3 separate regions of the Homo sapiens genome follow, and regions 1 and 3 are each linked to region 2. Evidence: promoter capture Hi-C in 16 types of primary human blood cells and fetal thymus (Javierre and others, 2016). All regions are on one chromosome and are shown on one strand. The core of a region is centred on a gene start or on the middle of the fragment in contact, and the rest is flanking DNA. Distances in the headings are between cores, read along the strand shown.

Region 1 (2,700 bases), core at 10-2,509, 73 kb after region 2:
AGTGCCTTTTATCTATTCTCAGCCAAGAGTGGTCTCAGCCAATATGTGGCAAGTGCCACTGATTCAGTAGTGAATAAGCCATATCTCTTCCATGAAGAGCTTTAGTCTTTAATTCCTAAGGTGTTTCTGCAGTTCCATAATAGTAATAATAGCTGCTAAACGTGCTAAGTTGAAGGCAAAGCCCTGGGAAAAGGCCACTGTAGTAGACCCCTCTGGGGGACACTGCCCAGCCAACAACAGCCTCCACCTATCAGAATATTTGTCCTTTCTCGCCCAAGAGTGGTTTTCAGAAGCACTGTTCTAGCTCGTTTCACAACAACCTTGAGATGATAACATTAAGGTTAAGTAAATTGTGCAAGACCACATAACTCTTTCATAGCTCTAGTAATGACTTTAACTCAGGTCTGCCTGGCTCTAACACACATGATCTTTCCACTATTTCCTGCTGCCTCCAAATAGACAGACAAATGGGCTATTCGGTTTGACTTAATATACAACAATCGCCAAGGTTTTTGTTTCATTTTCCTTTTATTGGCATCAGTAATATTCATGCTTTTTTTTTTTTTTTTGAGACAGAGTCTCACCCCTGTTGCCTAGGCTGGAGTGCATTGGCACGATCTCAGCTCATTGCAACCTCCACCTCCCAGGTTCAAGCGATTCTTGTGCCTCAGCCTCCCGAGTAGCTGGGATTACAGGCATGTGCCACCATGCCCGGCTAACTTTTATATTTTTTTAAGTAGAGACGGGGTTTCACCATGTTGGCCAGGCTAGTCTCAAACTCCTGACCTCAAGTGATCCGCCCACCTCGGCCTCCCAAAGTGTTGGAATTACAGGCATGAGCCACTGCGCCCAGCTGGCATTAGTAATATTCATTACACTGGTATCTTTAACCTTCATTTTGGCAATAATGCCCCGTAAAACACCAGACAAACCCTTAACAAGCTAGCATGATGCGTCTGGGGAGTTTGTACACATGGCCGTGTCCATCTATGGGAAGATATAGTGTTGGAGCAAGCCCCAGGAGTAGTCAGTCAAATGGCTGAGGATTCTTTTGCAATGAGGATATTACTGATGAGAAATAAAGGCCCAAGGGAAAATCCCCCTCAATGACGGAATGTTTCCAGTACATCTGAAGGGAGTTGGAAACGTGTATGTAATGTCCTGATGGGAGCTCATCTTTGCATGCCCAAAGTTGTGTAAGCACCTTGGTCCAGAAACATTCCCTGAATATAGCTAAAACTGCAAAAATTCAATGGTCCATGTCCTTTTTTCAAATTGTTTCACTATCAGCTGCTACTGCTCTGGTCTGTTCAAATAATGGCACCTTGATTTGAAAGAAGGAAATATGTATTTCATTTATAAAGTCAATAAATTTATTCTGAGTGCTAATATGTGGGAGGCACTATTGATTCAATAGTGAATAAGCACCATCTTGTCCATGAAGAGCTTTAGTCTTTAATTCATAAGGGCGTTTCTGCAGTTCCACAATAGTAATGAGAGCTGCTTGCTGTTGATGCACGATCATCCATTTGCACTTCACCATCATTCTGGGGTAGGCAGGGTAGGTCTTATAATCTCCATATCACAAATGAAAAGCCTGAGCATGAGAGAAGTTATGGCTTTTTTCCAAAGTTTCACAACTTGTAATTAATAGATCTGAGATTTTTTTTTTTTCTGAGACAGGATCTTGCTCTGTGGCCCAGGCTGGAGTGCAGTGGTGCGATCTCAGCTGACTACAACCTCTGCCTCCTGGGCTCAAGCAATCCTCCCACTTCAGCCTCCCAAGTAGCTGGGACTACAGGTGCCCACCACCACAGTGGCTAATTTTTGTATTTTTTGTAGAGACGGGGTTTTTCCATGTTACCCAGGCTGGTCTCGAACTCCTGAGCTCAAGTGATCCACCCACCTCAGCCTCTCAAAGTGCTGGGATTACAGGTGTGAGCCACCATACACACACAGTCAGATCTGAGATTTAAGACTGCTTAATCTGGGGGGTCCCTTTTATGGAGTTGCATGCTCTGTCATCTTATTTCAGATTTGGTATTTCTTGGAGATGCATAGTTTTCTGCTTGTGGTATTACAGAGTAAGGTTTAGCAACCTATGACCTGTGGGCCAAACCTGCTGCCATCTGCATTTGTTTGTTTGTTTGTTTGTTTGTTTGTGTTTTCGAGACAGGGTCTCACTCTGTTGCCCAGGCTGGAGTGCAGTGGCATGATCACTGGCTCACTGCAGCTTCAACATCCTGGGATGAAGTGATCCTCCCATCTAAGCCTTCTGAGTAGCTGGGACTACAGGAGTGCACCACCATGCCCAGCTAATTTTTGCTTTTTTTTTCTTTTGTAGAGACGGAATTTCGCCATGTTGTCCAGGCTCATCTCAAACTCCTGGGCTCAAGCGACCCGCCCCCCTCAGCCTCCTAAAGTGCTGAGATTACAGGCGCAAGCCACCATGCCCAGCCTGCTGCCACCTGTTTTTGCAAATAAGATTTTATTAGGACACAGCCACACTCACTCATTTATTTACTGCCTGTGGTGGTTTTGTACTACAACAGCAAAGTTGAGCAGCTGTGATCAAGACTATATGCCCCACAAAGCCTAAAATATTATTTCTGGCCTTTTATAAAAGAGTTTGCTGACCCCTGGTCCACAACATAAACGTAACTTGCCCTCCCCTTGATTACTCCCTTTGTTTAGGATTAT
Region 2 (2,700 bases), core at 80-2,579:
ACGTGCCCGCTGGCTCAGCTCCCATGGCACGGGCTGGGTGCTCCGCTATTTCACTTCTCTCCCTCAGTTCCCCATCTGTGAAATGGGAATGCCCCTTCAGCTGCTCTGCCTCAGCCCCTATGGAAATGCCAGGAAGGGGAAAGGTCGGTCACCAAAACGCCAGGGACAGCATTATCTGAAAAGTGAAGCCAGAAAAGAGGGTGAGGGTGGGGTGGGGAGGGGGAGCCAGCGCCCACAAAGCACGAATTAAACACCCATGAAATCAAGCACGACGCCAAGAGGGCCGGCTGCCTTGAGAAAAGCCAGCGTGCGGCCACCTTTTCCCCGGCCTGGGAACTTTCCCCAGGAACAGGGCCCTCGGCCCGGAGTCCCGCGCCTCGCCCAGGGCCCCACTGCCCAGCGCCTGGCCCTGCCCTGTCGCCCCCGCCGCCCCTCGGGCCCCTGCAGGCCGGGTCGGAGGTCTGTCGGCAAAGGCTCAGCCAGGCCGCCCGGCTCTGCGTCCCCAGACCTCCGCAAACACGCCCCCTCCGGCCGCCTCCGGCTAGGAAGCCGGGCCCGTGCCCGCCAGATGTGCCCAGCGCCGGGAAGAGCCGGGCCAGGGACGGCCTGGAGCCCGCGCGGAGGCTTTCCCCGGGAGGCTCGGGCACCGCGGCACCCGGATCCCGCCTCTCTCCCCCGATCCTGGGCAGCCGGAAAAGGGATCGATCGCCGGCGTGCGAGGCCGGCCGGGGTCCCCGCAAGTCGCCTTCCGGGGATCCGGGGATCCGGACCCCCGCCCCCTTCCCCGGAACCCCCCGGGGGGGTACGCTCGGGCAGGTGCAGTCAATGCCAGTCCCGCCCCAGCCTCCTGCCCCCCGCCCGAGCCCACCCGGCGCTTACCTGGCCCAGGCGCAGCAGCAGCAGCAGCAGCGGCAGCGCCCAGCGCAGCCCGGGCGAGCGCGGAGGCAGCCGCGCCTCCCGCGCCGCCGGCTTCATGCCCCGCGCGCCCTGGAACGTGCCCCGGACGCGCGAATCGGGCCCCGCCGTGCGCCCGAGCCCGGGCACCGTCGTCGCCGCCTCCTGCCGTCTCCTTCGCCTCCTCCTCCGCCAGCCGGTCCGCCTCGTCCCCGCTCCGCCCGCCCCGGGCTTCCCCGGAGACATGGCAGCGGCGGCGGCGGCCGCGGCCACACGCCGGAGCCTAGCGCGGCTGCCGCGGGGGGGCCGCGTCCCTGAGCGCGCAGGGGCTTCGCGGGGCGGAGCGAGCGGCGCCCACCCCCAGCGCGCGGCTACCCGGTCCCGGCTCCCGCGGCTGCTCCCGCTGCCTCCTCCGCGCGTCATGCGGCTGGGGCTGCTGCAGGGAGCCGCGGCGAGCGCTCGGCCCCCTCCCTTCCCCTCCCCCTCTGAATATTCATCGCTTCCTCCCGCCCCGGCCGGCCCGGCGGCTGCGGAGCTCCGCAGCCCCTCGCCGCCGCCCGCCGCTGCCCCCGCCCCCTCCGAGCCGGCCGCGGATCCCCTCCCGCGGGCAGAGGAAGCGCTCCCGCCTCGCCCGCCCCTCCGCCCAGCCCTCCCACATTCCTGGGACTTGGAGCCCGGGACCAGGCTCCGTGGCTCTAGCGCCTCGAGCCGGCACCCCTCAGGACGGGCTCCCCAGCCTCACACCAGGTCCACGGCGCCGGGTTCGGGTGGGCAGAGGTTGACCGAGACCCCTACTGAGAGCGCAGCCAAGCCTGATTGTAGACAGCAACCCGGCGAAGGCGCGTTTGACCTGGCCCTGGGTGGGCTTGGGGGTGCGTGAACCCCGAAATTGTAGAAGGCACGCTGTACATTGTGTTCTGTCCCCCAGCCCCCGAGCGCCGGCCAGGGAGGCAGAGAGCCCAGTACAAGCCAGTCCAGGGATTAGAACCCCAGCTGTGGCATATGGTGGACGGGGCTCTGCTGGTAGTACCAGCCCTGTGAACTCTGGAGACGCATTTCTCCTCTCTGGCCGACCCCACCCACCCTCCTCTCCTCCCGTGTGAAATAAAGATCGTACTAGGACGTGTGGAGAGAGAGGTCCACTGCATTCGCGATTAAACGAGACAGTAGTTAGTAAAGTCCTAAACACCTAGCCTGACACATCGTGGGACTCCACATACATTAGCTCTTCTGGAAGCTTTCATCACGTTGTTAAAGAGGTCAATGAACTGACAGGAGTTAAAGATCACAGCAGATATTACTCCTGTGCCCATGCACAGAGGAAGACACTAGGATCAGGGAGGCTATGCCACTTGCCCAGGAGAAGCCGCAAGAGAAAGGGCCAAACCAGAGAGTGCTAAGGAGGAAGAGGTTAATTCCAACCAGGAGAGAGGTGACACCTGAGCTGGGCTTTGAAGGATGTGTTGAGTTTCACCAGGCCAGTAGAGGGGAGAAGTGTCTCAGGAGGTGGGGCCAACTTGGCAGAAACGAGGCAGCAGATGCTTCGAGCTTGGCCTTCGGAGAAACAGGAATGGGAGGCTGGGGGATTCATACTGGGGGAGACTTCAAAGGCCAGGATAATGAGTCTAGGCTGGATTCTGTGTGCAGCAAGATGCAGACCACGAGGTGTCCAACACTACCTCCAGACACCCGTTGGGCCTCAGGTTACCATCTACAAGATGGGAATACACATTCACTTACAGGGTCTAAGTGGTTCCCACCAGACAACACACCCAGACAAGCACTGAGGATAAAGAAACTTTGCCA
Region 3 (2,810 bases), core at 243-2,742, 110 kb after region 2:
CTGGCTGACTCTTACAGAAAATAGAAAGAACCTACGTTGAAATATTGGGGGCGGGTTCCCCCAATACCAGACTGGGCACAGTGGCTCATGCCTGTAATCCCAGCACTTTGGGAGGCCAAGGTGAGAGGATAGATTGAAGCTTGAGACCAGCCTTGATGACAAAGCAAGACTCCACCTATACAAAACGTTTTTTTAAATCAGCTGGGTGCAGTGGCACGTGACTGTGGTCCCAGCTACTCAGGAGGATTGTTTGAGCCCAGAAGTTCAAGGTCACATTGAACTCAACCAGGCGCAGTGGCTCATGCCTATAATCCCAGGATTTTGGGTGGCCAAGGTGGGCCTATCACTTGAGGTCAGGAGTTTGAGACCAGCCTGGTCAACATGGTGAAACCCCATCTCTACTAAATTAGGTGGGCATGGAGGCATGTGCCTGTAATCCCAGCTACTTGGGAGGCTGAGCCAAGAGGATTGCTTGAGTCCAGGAGGTGGAGGTACCAGTGAGCCAAGATTGCACCATCTTGTCTCAAATGAATAACTAAATAAATAATAAAAATAAATTTTAAAAAAAGATATCTTTAACATATCAAAAAACAAACAAAACAAAAAACTAACATATCAACATATCCAAAAGTAAGTTCTTCTTTTTTTATTTTATTTTATTTTTTTTGAGACAGAGTTTTGCTCTTGTTGCCCAGGCTGGAGTGCAGTGGCACAATCTTAGCTCACTGCAACCTTTGCCTCCCAGGTTCAAGTGATTTTCCTGCCTCAGCCTCCCAAGTAACTGGGATTACAGGCACCTGCCACCATGCCCGGCTAATTTTTTGTATTTAGTAGAGACAGGGTTTCACCATGTTGGTCAGGCTGGTCTTGAACTCCTCACCTCAGGTGATCCACCCACCTGGGGCTCCCAAAGTGCTGGGGTTACAGGTGTGAGCCACTGCGCCTGGCCCAAAACTTAGTTCTTAATCTACTCCTCTAATCTTTACTCCATCATTCTTGCCCACCATTCCAACCAGAAACCTGGGAGCCATACTTTCCTCCTCTTTCCCCCATTCTCTCCTACCCCATCCAACCCACCAACAAGTCAGAAGGATTGTACTTCAAAAGTATGTTTCAGATTCGTCCACTTCTCTCCAGTCAGCTACCCTGTTCTAAGCAACTATCATTTCTCATCTGGACTCCTGTAGAAACTCCTAGCTGGTGTCCCTACCTTACTCTGGCTCCTTCCTCAAAGCTAAAAATGGTTATTTTCCATATGACATTTAAGTGCTCTTTTAAAATAAATCATAATGTGCCCAGGCACGATGGCTCATGCCTGTAATCCCAGCACTTTGAGAAGCTGAGGGTGGCAGATCACCTGAGGTCAGGAGTTTAAGACCAGCCTGGCCAACATGGCAAAACCCCATCTCTAATAAAAATACAAAAATTAGCCAGCTGTGGTGGCAGGTGCCTGCAATCCCAGCTACTCGGGAGGCTGAGGCAGGGAGAATCGCTTGAAACTGGAAGGTGGAGGCTGCAGTGAGCTGAAATTGCGCTACTGCACTCCAGCCTGGGCGACAGAGCAAGACTCCATCTCAAAAAAAAAAAAAAGTCAGCTTTGAATAAATCTGTTGAATGCAAATGAATGAATGAGAAGGTGCTTGCTGCGGAGAACAAGGACTTAAAGGCGAATGGCATCGGACTCTCCTAATCAGATGCTTCCATCTCCACAACAAGGGTGACTAGTCAATGGGACCAGAAATCCTACAAGTATGTTGGCTGAGTCTTCCTGGTCAGTGCTTGAAAGAACAGGAAATGTTCCATCTTCTGGTTTGATCAAATCCTTATTTAATGAATACATTCTTTCTTTCTATTTAAGACTTCTGGCCAGGCACAGTGGCTCACGGCTGTAATCCCAGCACTTTGGGAGGCCAAGGCGGGCAGATCATGAGGTCAGGAATTTGAGACCAGCCTGACCAACATGGTGAAACCCTGTCTCTACTAAAAATACAAAAATTAGCTGGGCTTGGTGGCAGGTGCCTATAGTCCCAGCTGCTCAGAAGGCTGAAGCAGGAGAATTGCTTGAACCTGGAAGGGAGAGGTTGTGGTGAGCTGAGATCACGCCATTGCACTCCAGCCTGGGCAACAAGAGGGAAACTCTGTCTCGGAAAAAAAAAAAAAAAAAAAAAAGACTTCTAATCAACTTACATTTATGTCTTTGGAGTCACATTATTGTTTCCAGAGGGGCTACATAACCTGACTCTGATTCCCTGCATGTGTCAGTAGTGTGATGTAAGGCCTAAAATCAATTTTTTTTTTTTTTTGAGATGGAGTCTGGCTCTGTCGCCCAGGCTGGAGTGCAGTGGTGCAATCTCAGCTCACTGCAAGCTCCACCTCCCGGTTTCACACCATTCTCCTGCCTCAGCCTCCCGAGTAGCTGGGACCACATGTGCCCGCCACCACGCCCAGCTAATTTTTTGTATTTTTAGTACAGACAGGGTTTCACCATGCTGACCAGGATGGTCTCGATCTCCTGACCTCATGATCCACCGCCTCGGCCTCCCAAAGTGCTGTGATTACAGGCATGAGCCACCACACCCCACCCTAAAATCAATATTATGTGCTGTCTTGACTGGAACTGGGTGTGGGGGGCCTTGAGTGGCCTGACAGCAAGTTTTCCTCCCCACTCTGCTCCGGTGGATAAGATCCTCTAGCCAGATAACCCTCACTATCAAATGGACTAGGTGCAATTCCTGCTTATTCCTGAGTAGCAGGTTTCAGTTCCCATGGAATTATTCAAACAAGCCAATCACATCCTCCTTAAGAAATCA

Evidence for each region. The method cuts DNA at HindIII sites, captures the fragments that hold promoters and counts their contacts. A CHiCAGO score of 5 or more calls a contact.
Region 1: a fragment that was not itself captured here is called in contact with the fragment with the promoter of PTPRJ in region 2 in 1 of 17 cell types (M2 macrophages); the score reaches 6.2 in M2 macrophages.
Region 3: a fragment that was not itself captured here is called in contact with the fragment with the promoter of PTPRJ in region 2 in 6 of 17 cell types (total B cells, M2 macrophages, activated CD4 T cells and 3 more); the score reaches 6.1 in total B cells.

The regions. Positions count from the first base shown.
Region 1 is chr11:47,906,047-47,908,746 of GRCh38, reverse strand. No RefSeq gene overlaps it. Among named protein-coding and RNA genes, the nearest start is that of NUP160, 59 kb to the right of the region's middle. The HindIII fragment of the contact is 4,554 bases long and covers 1-2,700 here.
Region 2 is chr11:47,979,188-47,981,887 of GRCh38, reverse strand. It overlaps PTPRJ (protein tyrosine phosphatase receptor type J), which reads right to left and starts at 1,329. Exons shown (of 25, transcript NM_002843.4): 1 at 880-1,329. The coding sequence starts at 975. RefSeq lists silencers at 299-728, 829-1,418. The HindIII fragment of the contact is 2,862 bases long and covers 1-2,133 here.
Region 3 is chr11:47,872,459-47,875,268 of GRCh38, reverse strand. No RefSeq gene overlaps it. Among named protein-coding and RNA genes, the nearest start is that of NUP160, 26 kb to the right of the region's middle. The HindIII fragment of the contact is 2,702 bases long and covers 142-2,810 here.